Regions from separate parts of the Homo sapiens genome. Here region 1 is linked to region 2. Evidence: promoter capture Hi-C in 16 types of primary human blood cells and fetal thymus (Javierre and others, 2016). All regions are on one chromosome and are shown on one strand. Each heading gives the region's core, a stretch centred on a gene start or on the middle of the fragment in contact. The rest is flanking DNA. Distances are from core to core; before and after follow the strand shown. Region 1 has its middle 12 kb from the start of CENPA. Region 2 holds the start of MAPRE3-AS1 (MAPRE3 antisense RNA 1).

The links. The method cuts DNA at HindIII sites, captures the fragments that hold promoters and counts their contacts. A CHiCAGO score of 5 or more calls a contact.
Region 1: a contact is called between a fragment that was not itself captured here and the fragment with the promoter of MAPRE3-AS1 in region 2, in 1 of 17 cell types (endothelial precursors). The highest score is 5.9, in endothelial precursors.

Annotation. Positions count from the first base shown.
Region 1 is chr2:26,794,904-26,801,039 of GRCh38, reverse strand. No RefSeq gene overlaps it. Among named protein-coding and RNA genes, the nearest start is that of CENPA, 12 kb to the right of the region's middle. RefSeq lists a silencer at 6,133-6,136. The HindIII fragment of the contact is 3,696 bases long and covers 2,962-6,136 here.
Region 2 is chr2:27,012,482-27,018,175 of GRCh38, reverse strand. It overlaps MAPRE3-AS1 (MAPRE3 antisense RNA 1), which reads left to right and starts at 3,588. Exons shown (of 6, transcript NR_149018.1): 1 at 3,588-3,675. All of the region lies in intron 1 of MAPRE3 (microtubule associated protein RP/EB family member 3), which reads right to left. The HindIII fragment of the contact is 5,889 bases long and covers 1-5,389 here.

The DNA of each region.
Region 1 (6,136 bases), core at 3,560-6,059, 220 kb after region 2:
CTTTATTTAAAAAAAAATAGAGACAGGGTCCGAGAGGCTGAGGCAGGAGAATCGCTTGAACTTGGGAGTTGGAGGTTGCAGTGAGCCGAGATCGTGCTGCTGCACTCCAGCCTGGGTGAGAGAGTGAGACTCTGTCTCAAAACAACAACAACAACAACAACAACAAACAGAGACAGGGGCTTACTGCTGCCCAGGCTGGTCTTGTCACAAAATCCTGGCCTCAAGCAATCCTCCTGCCTCAGCCTTCCAAAGTGCTAGGATTACAGGTGCTCAGTCGGAATTTTTAAATATATATATTTAAATATATACACAAATATATATATATATTTGTGCATTGGAAATTAATTTCCTTCACACATTCAGAACATTTATAAAAACTTTACAAAGAACTGCCTCTCAGGCTGGGTGCAATGGCTCACACCTGAAATCCCAGCACTGTGGGAGGCTGAGGAGAGTGGATCACTTGAGCCCAGGAGTTTGAGACCAGTCTGAGCAACATGGAGAAAACCCATCTCCACTAAAATAAATACAAAAATGGCTAGGCACAGTGGCTCACGCCTGTAATCCCAGCACTTTGGGAGGTCGAGGCGGGCAGATCATGAGGTCAGGAGATCAAGACCATTCTGGCCAACATGGTGAAATCCCGTCTCTACTAAAAATACAAAAATTAGCTGGGTGTGGTGGCGTGTGCCTGTAATCCCAGCTATTTGGGAGGCTAAGGCATGAGAATTGCTTGAACCTAAGAGGCGGAGGTTGCAGTGAGCCAAGATCGCGCCACTGCACTCCAGCCTGGTGACAGAGTGAGACTCTGTCTAAAAAAAAAAAAAAAAAAAAAAATTAGCCAGGTGTGGTGGTGTGCTCCTATATTCCCAGCTACTCGGGAAGCTGAGGTGGGAAGATCACCTGAGCCTGGGGAGGTCGAGGATGCAGTGAACTGTGATCACACCAATGCCCTCTAGCGTGGGTGACAGAGTAAGATCCTGTCTCAAACAAACAAACCCCCCAAAAAAATGCATCTCCAAGTCTCTTTTTTTTTTGTTTTTGAGGCAAAAGTCAGTAGCCAATATTTGTAACCCCCAAACTTGAAACTATCCAAATGTTCAATAGAATGGAAATATACAAATTTAGGCATAGGCCGCTCTGCCTACAGAGTAGCTATGCTTTATTCTTTCACTTTCTTAATAAACTTGCTTTCACTAAAAAAAAAAAAAAAAAATTTAGGCATATCCACACAATGAAACCCTATGCAGCAGTAAGAATTAACACCATAAACACATGAGAAAATATAAATTTCACAAACATGTTGACTGAAAAACACAAAAGAATATATGCTCTATAATTCCACTTACTACAATAATCAAAATGAATCTATGGTATTAAAAGTCAGGATAGGCCGGGCGTGGTGGCTCACGCCTGTAATCCCAGCTCTTTGGGAGGCCGAACCAGGTAGATTACCTGAGGTCAGGAGTTTGAGACCAGCCTGGCCAACATGGTGAAACCCCGTCTCTACTAAAAATACAAAAATTAGCCAGACGTGGTGGTGGGTGCCTGTAATCTCGGCTACTCAGGAGGCTGAGGCAGGAGAATCACTTGAACCCGGGAGGCAGAGGTTGCAGTGAGCCGAGATTGCGCCACTGCACCCCAGCCTGGGCCACACACCCCACCCAGCCTGGGCGACAAGAGCAAAGCTCCGTCTATATAAAAAAACAACAGGATAACAATTATCCTTGGCAGAGTAAGTATTGACTAGAACGGGGCAGGATTCTGAGATGCATTGATTTCAGTTTGTGAAAACTAATTGAGCTGTAAAATTGTAATCTGTATACATTTGTGTTTTTGGTATGTATGTTATACTTTAATTAGAAAATCTTTTAAAAAGAATGGAGCTTTTCAGTTCCTGTAAACAGCATTAAAATAAATCCAAAGAATATAAAATAGAATAAAACTCTAATGCTGCTCAAAGTATATTACTAGGTTGGTGCAAAAGTAATTGCGGTTGTTGCCATTGAAAGTAATGGCAAAAAAAAAAAAAAAAAGTAGGTGCCATCTGGCTTTTAAAAATTTGTAATTGTGACACAGTGCGTCATATGGTATGTAGGGAGAACTCTAACCATGTTTTTCCTCACTCTCACAGCACAACAATCATCCATGCAGAAGATTTCTGTGACCAAACGTTGGAGGTGATTTCCCCATACACCAAGCAGTGGACACCAGCTGGGTGTCCTCTAATTCATTTCTGACACTGTCTACCCAGAGATGGCATCAGATCCCACACGTTGAGGGTTCAGTCCCCAAGACTGCCCACCCACCAAAACCGGTCACAAGTCTGGGCCTCTAGGACTGGCTTCAAGTTGGGGTTCCCATGACCCCCTCTTTGATTAATTTGGTGGAGTGGCTCACAGAGCTCAGGGAAACACATTTACCAGTTTGTTACAAAAAATATTACAAAGGATACAGATGGCTGGGCGCGGTGGCTCACACCTGTAATCCCAGCACTTTGGGAGGCTGAGGCGGATTACCTGAGGTCAGGAGTTCAAGACCAGCCTGGCCAACATGGCGAAACCCCGCCTCTACTAAAAATACAAAAATTAGCCGGGTGTAGTGGCCCACGCCTATAATCCCAGCTACTTGGGAGGCTGAGGCAGGAGAATTGCTTGAACCTGGGAGGCGGAGGTTGCAGTGAGCCAAGATCGCGCCACTGCACTCCAGCCTGGGTGACAGAGTGAGACTCTGTCTAAAAAAAAAAAAAATGAAAAATAAAAAATAAAAAAAATGCATGAAAAACATAAAAAAAGGAAACAGATGAAGAGACACGTGGGGTGAGGTATGGGGAATGCACACAGAGCTTCTAAGCCCTCCGTGGGGGGTGGGGGGTGTGGGGGGCGCCACCCTCCAGGAACCTCCCCGAGTTCAGGTATCGGGAACCTCCCTGAACCGTCCTCAAGGGTTTTTATGGAAGCTTCAGGACCTCCGCATTCTTTCCCCCAGGGTATAGAGGGAACCTCTCTGGGTAGGATCTTAAGACCCACAATCTGAAAGCCTGAGAAAGATTAGAGGCCTGTCTTGGGGCAGGTGAAAGGAGGGCAGGAGAAGGAGAGATTCTGTTTCCTGAGGCCTAACACATACCCAATATTACAACAAAAGAACTAACAACGGCTATAGCAGTTATGAGCCCGGAACTGTGGACGAAAACCAATGTCTATCATAACACCACATGTGGTATAGTAGACATCTGTTATTTTTGTCTGCCCTGTCTACATTCTCTCTTACCTGTTAAGAAGCCTCAAATTTCCTTGGGAAACCACTTGTATTAGTTTCCTATTGCTGCTGTAACAAATTAGCAACAACTCAGTGGCTTAGATAAAACACAAATTTATTCTTACAGTTCTGTAGTTTAGAAGTCTGACACAAGTTTCGCTGGGCTAAAAATCAAGGTATCGGCAGGCCTGTTTTCTTCTCTGGAGTTTCTAAAAGAAAATCCGCTTCCTTGCCTCTTCGCTGCTAGAAGCCACCTAGACTCGTCAGTCTGTGATCTCTCCCTCCATCTTCAATGCCAGCAATGTTGCATCTGCCTGACCATTCTCCTACTCCTATCTCTAACACACTTCTCTCTCACTCTTCCATTTTTAATGGCACTTGTGATTACATTGGGCCCACCCAAAATTCCAAGGTACTCTCCCCATTTTTTGCTTTGTCCTTTTTTTCTTCTAAATCTCCCTATTTTAATGTCAGCTGATTAGCACTCTTAATTCCCCTTTGCCATGTGACATGCCAAATTTACAGGTTCTGAAGGCCTGCCTGAAAGTGACACTAACAGAAGCAGCAAAGGGTGAAGAGAGAGACCAAATCTCATGACTTTGTTACAGCCCTTCGATTTGACTGTAGCGAAACCAGAAATGTCTCTGGGCTTTTCAGTTATATGAACCTTCTCCTCTTAAGTCAGTTTGAGTTGGGGTCCCCAAACTTGCAAATGAGAGTCTTGATTGTTATATATGACAGCATGTGTTATGTTTGATGTTGAATACATTTAAGTTATTTTTGTTTTATTTTAATGGCAATAAGTAATGATGAGTATGGGAATATCAAGAGACACATCAAACTTCAACTTCCAGTAATGGTAGAAAAGGTCATTGGGACCACTCTCCTATCAAAGAAAACTGAAAAAGTTGGAGATCGCACCACTGCACTCCAGCCTCGGTGACAGAGCGAGACTCTGACTCAGAAAAAAAAAAAAAAAAATCCATACTGAAGACACATCAAAATGACATTGCAGAGCCAGCCGGGCATGATACAATGGTCAGAGTTGGGGATCCTGACTTTGCTCAGCGGCAGTGGTACAGTTCAATGCAATGGTGGCAGGGCTATGCTTCCAGCAGAGCAGCAGTGGGGGTGGGCACTGGGAGCTTCCTGATCTTTGGGCAGCATCCTCTTCTCTTTGGCTCAACCAGCCTTCCTGACATTACTATAGTCAACCCCTTCCACCAAATCCCTTTTTGCTTAAAATATCTGGAGTTATTTCTGTTTTTTTTTTTTAAGTGAATGCTGACTGATTGGAATACTATAAAAAAGAAACATTACCAAAATAAGGAGTTAATTGGATATTAAAAACATGAAATCAGAAATAAAAAATTCAATTGAAAGGTTAGAAAAGAATGTTGATGAAATCACCCTGAAAGTAGGGAAAAACAAAATAAAAAAATAAAACAGGGGCGTGGTGGCGAGCATCTATAGTTCAAGATACTTGGGAGGGCGAGGTGGGAGGATTGCTTGAGCCCAGGAGTTTGAGGCTGCAACGAGCTATGATTGCTCCACTGCATTCCAGCCTGGGTGACAGAGCGAGACCCCCCTTTCTCTCAAAAATAAATATGGCCAGGCCTGGTGGCTCACACCTGTAATCCCAGCACTCTGGGAGACTGAGTCAAGCAGATTGCTTGAGTTCAGGAGTTCGAAACCAGCTTAGGCAACACGGCAAAGCCTTGCCCCTACAAAAAATAAAATTAAATTAAAAATTAAAAAAATAATAATAAAAAAATACATAAAACAAAAACCCAGCCAGGCACAGTGGCTCACGCCTGTAATCCCAACACTTTGGGAGGCTGAGGCCCACAGATCACTTGAGGTCAGGAGTTCAAGACCAGCCTGGCCAACATGGTGAAACCCTGTCTCTACAAAAATACAAAAATTAGCCAGGCATGATGGTGGATGCCTGTAATCCCAGCTACTAGGGAGGCTGAGACAGGAGAATCATTTGAACCCAGGAGGCGGAGCTTGCAGTGAGCTGAGATGGCACTACTGCACTCCAGCCTGGGCGACAGACAGAGTCTCGGGAAAAAAAAAATTATTAAACAATAGAACTTGGTGCATCTCTTTAATCTGTCTCTGAACTCAGTTGACTGACACATCATTATTAGTAGTCTGCCCTCACTAATCATTTTCATCACATACAGATCTCATATCTTTGGGTGACACTTCCCATGTCTCTGGAAATCTTTTAAATTGCTTTCAGTTACAACAGAAGGGCAAGGTTTTCATCTAGTCATACTCTACTCCACCAGAGGCAAAACCACCTCCCTTAATTATCTTGTTTAAATTGTGGCTGTTCGCCCCGTCCGGGAGGTGAGGGGTGCCTCTGCCCGGCCGCCCCTACTGGGAAGTGAGGAGCCCCTCTGCCCGGCCAGCCGCCCCCTCCGGGAGGGAGGAGGAGGGGTCAGCCCCCCGCCCGGCCAGCCGCCCCGTCCGGGAGGTGAGGGGCGCCCCTGCCCGGCCACCCCTTCTGGGAAGTGAGGAGCCCCTCTGCCCAGCCACCACCCCATCTGGGAGGTGTACCCAACAGCTCACTGAGAACGGGCCATGATGACAATGGCGGTTTTGTGGAATAGAAAGGGGGGAAAGGTGGGGGAAAGATTGAGAAATCGGATGGTTGCCGTGTCTGTGTAGAAAGAAGTAGACATGGGAAACTTTTCATTTTGTTCTGTACTAAGAAAAATTCTTCTGCCTTGGGATCCTGTTGATCTGTGACCTTACCCCCAACCCTGTGCTCTCTGAAACATGTGCTGTGTCCACTCAGGGTTAAATGGATTAAGGGCGGTGCAAGATGTGCTTTGTTAAACAGATGCTTGAAGGCAGCATGCTCATT
Region 2 (5,694 bases), core at 2,339-4,838:
GTTGGCCCTGGGAGTTTCCGAGCCACTTTAGGGACTTTGTTCTGCTTAAAGTGTATGAATTTCAAGGGGTGACTACTGAAGAAAAGGAAAGGCAATGGTCTTAGTCCAAATATATCCTCCAGTTTTTGATTGAAATCATTTGAGCCTCAAGGGTCTTCCAGCCTGGGGGCAGCTTTCCTGGTTCCACAGGATTGGACCTGCTAATGGTTCAGGCCTCTTCCATGCATTGCAGAGATTCTTTACTAGGAGAGTCCACTGGCTTCTCCTGCAGAGACTTCAAGAGGCTACAGTGCAGCCCAAGTGTGTGTGTGTATGATATATTATATATACATTATATGTTATATGCACATATTTTACACACACACACACACATAATTTTAAAGAATAGCCCAGATGATTCTGGTGCACAGCCCTGTATGAGAACCACAGCCTTCATTTGATATGCATACTTAGCTGTGATTTACTGGCTTTTGTTGCAATGGCAAAGGCTGGAACATTGGGATGTTCTGCCACTTATCTGGGGGGAAAATACTAGCCAGTCCTTGGCACACAGGGAAAATCTCCAGTTTCCCTGGAGTTTAGAACACAACTAAAGGCCTTGCTTTTAGGGCTCCCAAGAGTCACTAAGAGCCACATAGCGGCTTGAAAAATGCCCAGGTCTTCTCAGCATTGACCCAGTCTTGTCAATGCCTGATGAAGGGAGGGCATTTTCCATACCTTCGGTCTGACTCTAGGGTCCCATGAGTGGCAGCAGTGCCTGTGTGAAGGAAGCTGGAAAAAATGGCTCCTTTCAGGACCCAGCAACGAATCATGCTGTTACCCACTATGGGGCTTCTGGGGAAGCAGGTAGCTAGTAGCAGGAACACAGCTTCAGTCCCTACTCAGGACTCGCTCAGGTCCTCACAACTGGTGCTACACTCTGCCCTAATGGGGGTCCATTTGGCTCAGGAGGACTCATCCAGGGCACCCAGGGGTCTCTGCAGGAATTCTCTGCTGCACCTGCTAGGGCAGCATGAAGTAACAGCCTCCTTGTTTCCTTTGAGCAAACATCACATTGGGGAGGGCAGGATGCCCTTTTAATTTTCCTCTCGTAGCTTTGGCTCTGTAAGTAGAACTAAACATGGCCAGCAGGTGGCACCCAGGTCCTGAGCAAAAACTCCTTTAAATGTATCCCCCATCCCCCAAACCCCCTTTCCAGAGCTCAGTTTAGAGCTCAAATTGGGAGCCTCTAAAAGCTGGGCTGGCTGAGGGGCCTGGAGCATTGGGGCTGTTCTAAGATCCTGGACTGAACTAAGCCAGCCTCCGTATCCCCTAAAACCACAGTTTGAACTCACCAAAGAGGTCCAACTTCTGATTGGCTTTTGCATTGGGGGTTGACTTGGGCCTGGACTCACACCAGACCAGCTGCTGGGGGCAGAGGTGTATAAAGTATTTGCCCAAGCATCAGGGTCTAAGTGGACCAGCTGCCTCCAATTACAGCAAAGACATAACCTGCCAGGCGCGGTGGCTCACGCCTGTAATCCCAGCACTTTGGGAGGCCGAGGTGGGCGGATCATGAGGTCAGGAGATCCAGACCATCTTGGCTAACACGGTGAAACCCCGTCTCTACTAAAAATACAAAAAATTAGCCGGGCACAGTGGCGGGCACTTGTAGTCCCAGCTACTCAGGAGGCTGAGGCAGGAGAATGGCGTGAACCCGGGAGGCGGAGCTTGCAGTGAGCCAAGATAGCGCCACTGCACTCCAGCCTGGGCAAAAGAGCGACACTCCATCTTAAAAAAAAAAAAAAAAAAAAAGACATAACCTGACGAAACTCTTAATAATAACACACTTGTTCCCAAGAGCTCCTTCACCTCCCCGGAGAGAATGGTAGGTAGCCACTCGGAGGGGGCAGGCTCTGTCCCAAGAGATGTAGTAGCAGTGTCTTCCAACCCCATCCACATGTTTCTACCATGATCTTTGGCACATGTGACTGTCAGGAGAAACAGACCCTGATTGGATTGTGGCATGTCATCATCCAGGCGGATCCCCATTCGAGGATCAGACCGACAACGTGGCTTTGGGGAAAGCCTGCTCTGAAGGGCCTCGACTCCTGCTATCAGGAATGGAGCCAAGGGAAAGAAAAGTTGAGGAGGTTTAATCTGGTGATTTTGCTGAGTCATTTCCTATACTAGGACTGTAAGGTTCATGGTGCATTCACAGGCAACTGGGAAAGGCAATTACAGCTCTCATTGCGGGAGGGGAAGCTGCTGGTCATTCTGCAGACTGAGGCCTTAAAAATGGTCATCAAGACCAAATCCCACTAACCCATGGTCAGAAGGGTTTCTAGAGACCATCTGCTTCCTTCCCAGGCGATTAGGACTGCACTTAGATCTAGGCACTTATATTCTTAAATCATAAAGATGGCCAATAAGTCTGCACAACTGAAATTTCACATTCTATTATTTAATGACCTTATCACCAGCCTAAATCTAATTTTGGCTTTTTGTTTTTAAATCTGTCTTCCACAAATATGTCTTAAGGGTAATTTAGGGGCCCTCAGTCTTCTCTAATTCTCTAGAGCTCTTTTTACCCCAAGTTTAGCCCTGTTCTGGCTGGTCCCTGGAAGAACCCCCTGCAGTTTCCAGGCCTCCACCCTCTGCCCAGCGTGGCTATGAAAGACACACCAGGTCTACCAGTCCTGAAGGAGGTGGCCAGCATGCCTCCAGCAAGCTCCAGAAAGGTAGTGCTTAAGAACACTAGATCTCCAGGCACATCAGGTGGGTTCAAATCCTAGTTGTACCATGTCCTAGCTGTCTGACTTGACTTTAGGTCTCAGTGTCCTCATCTATAAAGTGAGGACAGTGACAGCTCCCACCTCACAGAACAGTTATGAGGATTAAGTGAGCCATGTGTACACAGTGCTGAGCACAGAGCCTGACATTCAGTATGTATTTGGCAAGTGCTGTCAGCATCGCGGGGACAGACAGTGAGAATCTAAGGGCATTTGTTCGAGGAGTAGGTGCCTGACACACAGCCAGCCTCTGGTCTCAGACCATGGAAATGCCAGTCCAGAAAGGAGACAGACTACAGAACTTTTCTCTGCTGCTTTGCCTTGAGACAGCCACATGGGCTTCCCAAAGCTGGGCTCTGACCACAATCCCTCCCCAGCTCCAGATTTCCCATATAGCCTGCTTTGTAGACGCCATCCTACCGGCCAAGACAACTGGAACAGATGCTGTGGGATCAGAAGAGAGAGAACTCCACAGAGCCAGCCAACACGTTTCCCGTTCCTGAAGTGGGACTATGCCCATTGTCACTGGGCTACCCCTTCCTGCCCAGGCCCGGGGGCTGAAGTCACCTGTTTGGAAAATCTGCAAAATTGCTACCCCTACCCCTGTGAGTCACACATCCAGGTTATTCTGGGCTTGCATGGAGGCAGTATGTGCAGGTGGGGCTGAGGGGTTCTGAGGGGCTGGGGAGCAAGCCAGCGGGTCACAAAGCCCTGGCAGACCTGGCCAATCACCTTCTTCTTATGGCTGAGCAAGGACCTGATTCATTGAGAGGCTCAGCCTCTCAAAGCTGGATTAATCAATGCAGAGACGGGGCAAGTGGAGTATTTGCAGGGTTGGCCTGGAGCCCAGCATGCGCCCCCTCCCACACATCCAGGACAGGGATCTGGACGGCTGTGGGTTCAGGTAGGGACTGAAACTCCTCCAGGATTTTGTTCTCACAACACTTTTAGGTCACAACTCTAAGACCCTGAGCCCTGCTGAAGTTCCAGCCACTGGGATCCTGGACATGTCCTGCTGAATAATGATCTGAACTCTTACTAAGGCTCTCCCCAGGCTGGTTGGGATAATGGTGCCACATCCCTGTAGCTGCTAGCCAGGGAAGGAGTCCTTGGGGTAGGTTCTGGCTAGGTCACCCTATCTGACCATAACTTCGAGGGTTAACGGAAACCCTGCAGTATAGTAAACAAAATTTCTCATCGCTAAAATCAATCCATTTCAGTAGGGTTCATCTAGGTGGGCAGATAGGCAATATTTTCTTTCTAAACGTTCTTTGCTGGAGATCTTTCAGTTCCTCAAACACCTACTTTTTAGGTCAACAAATGTCCATGGAGTCACCCATCAATCCAAGGCTCCCAGCAGAAGGCAGACAGTGTGACTTGGCTACAGGCTTTGCCATTCGCTGCCTGTGAGACACAAGCAAGTAGGCGAAGATATCCAAGCCTCAGTTCTCATGAAGCATCAGAATGATGGTATGATTGAGCATGGGGCTGTTGGAAGGATAATGAGTACCGCTGGCAGGAGCCAAAGGTTCACCATCACGCTGCTTTGGGGGCTGAGCAACCTTTACTGATAGGCAAGATCACTGACATAGACATATCTGACTCAACATCTTCTTTCCTGCACCCTGACCCAATTCCCACAGACCCTCTGATCAGGGTCCTGAGCAGGGAGAGAGTAGGGACAGCCTTGGGTATCCACTCTCTGCTGCCTCAGGCAGAAAGACAGAGCTGTGCTTTTGAAGCTATGTTGCCCATTTCTTCCCTCAATTAGTACTGGCTCAGGGCTCAGTGCACAATAGCTTCTCAGTACCTATATATTTATTGAATGAATGAATGAATGAATGGGAGAGGTTAAACTAGGGTTTGGGGGGTTCAGATGGCAGGTGGACTCAGAAAGTGTGGTTTTCTGCTTTTATTTCTTGTTTGTTGACCCTGAGGAGGTGCCACTGGCTACATGGAGAAGCAAGGAGAGGAGAATGCTAGCTGCACTCCCTGGCTACACGCAAACAGATGCAGCACGAAGCCTTGGGAACCTTGGCAAGGGATTTAAACAGTCTCCCTCTAATGCATATAACATGGTGCTGCTGGATTTCCCAGAACAGGATTTTAAGATGGTTCCGAGAGTGGAACCTGGTAACTCCTGGGAGCACCTCTCTGCTTGGTCTGCTCTGGGGGTGGGCTGCTGGCCCATCTGTGGCTAGCCTCAGGATAGAGGGAAGGGAGCTGCAGCAGCTGCCATGACGTGTTGGGAAGGGAACTGTCATGTTTGCAGCAGCCCTGGTGGGTCTGATGTTTTTTTAATTATCCTTCAAGTTCCAAAAGCACATCCATGTCTCTGGGGACACATAACAAGCCATGTCACTTTATGTTCCTTTGGAACTATGTCTCTTTGGACTGTCTGGCTTATAGTTGTTGTTCAGGGCCAAGTGATGTGTCACCCTTCTCTGAAATGTCTGCATCCTGTGAATTGTTTAGCCTACTTTCCCCTGACCCCAGGCTCAGGCCCCTCTTCTCTGCTCTCACCATACCTTTCACCCCACATCCAGTCCCCTCCCAAAATCCTCCCAGTTTTACTTCTGTGCCCTTTTGAGAGGGCACAGTCATTTATACTTTAAGCTTTCCACCAGAAAGTCGGATGCTGAAGATGTCCAGGACAAACTTAAGTTTCAGTGTTTGTTGAACTCTCTGTGCCCTCTCCAGTAGACTGCCTTTCCTCATGCCCTCAGACTCTACTCTACCTGCCTGTTCTGCAGGACTAACCCCACGTGGAGACAGTCAGCCCCCACCCCAGTGGGGACATGCACTGGAGAGCTTCCAGAAGGCCTGCAGATAGCTTCTCTCCTGCCCTACCATAGTGCCCGAAATTCCCACCAGAAATGCCACTCTTGTGGATTACAGCATCCAGCTCCAGAAAGCCTTTGAG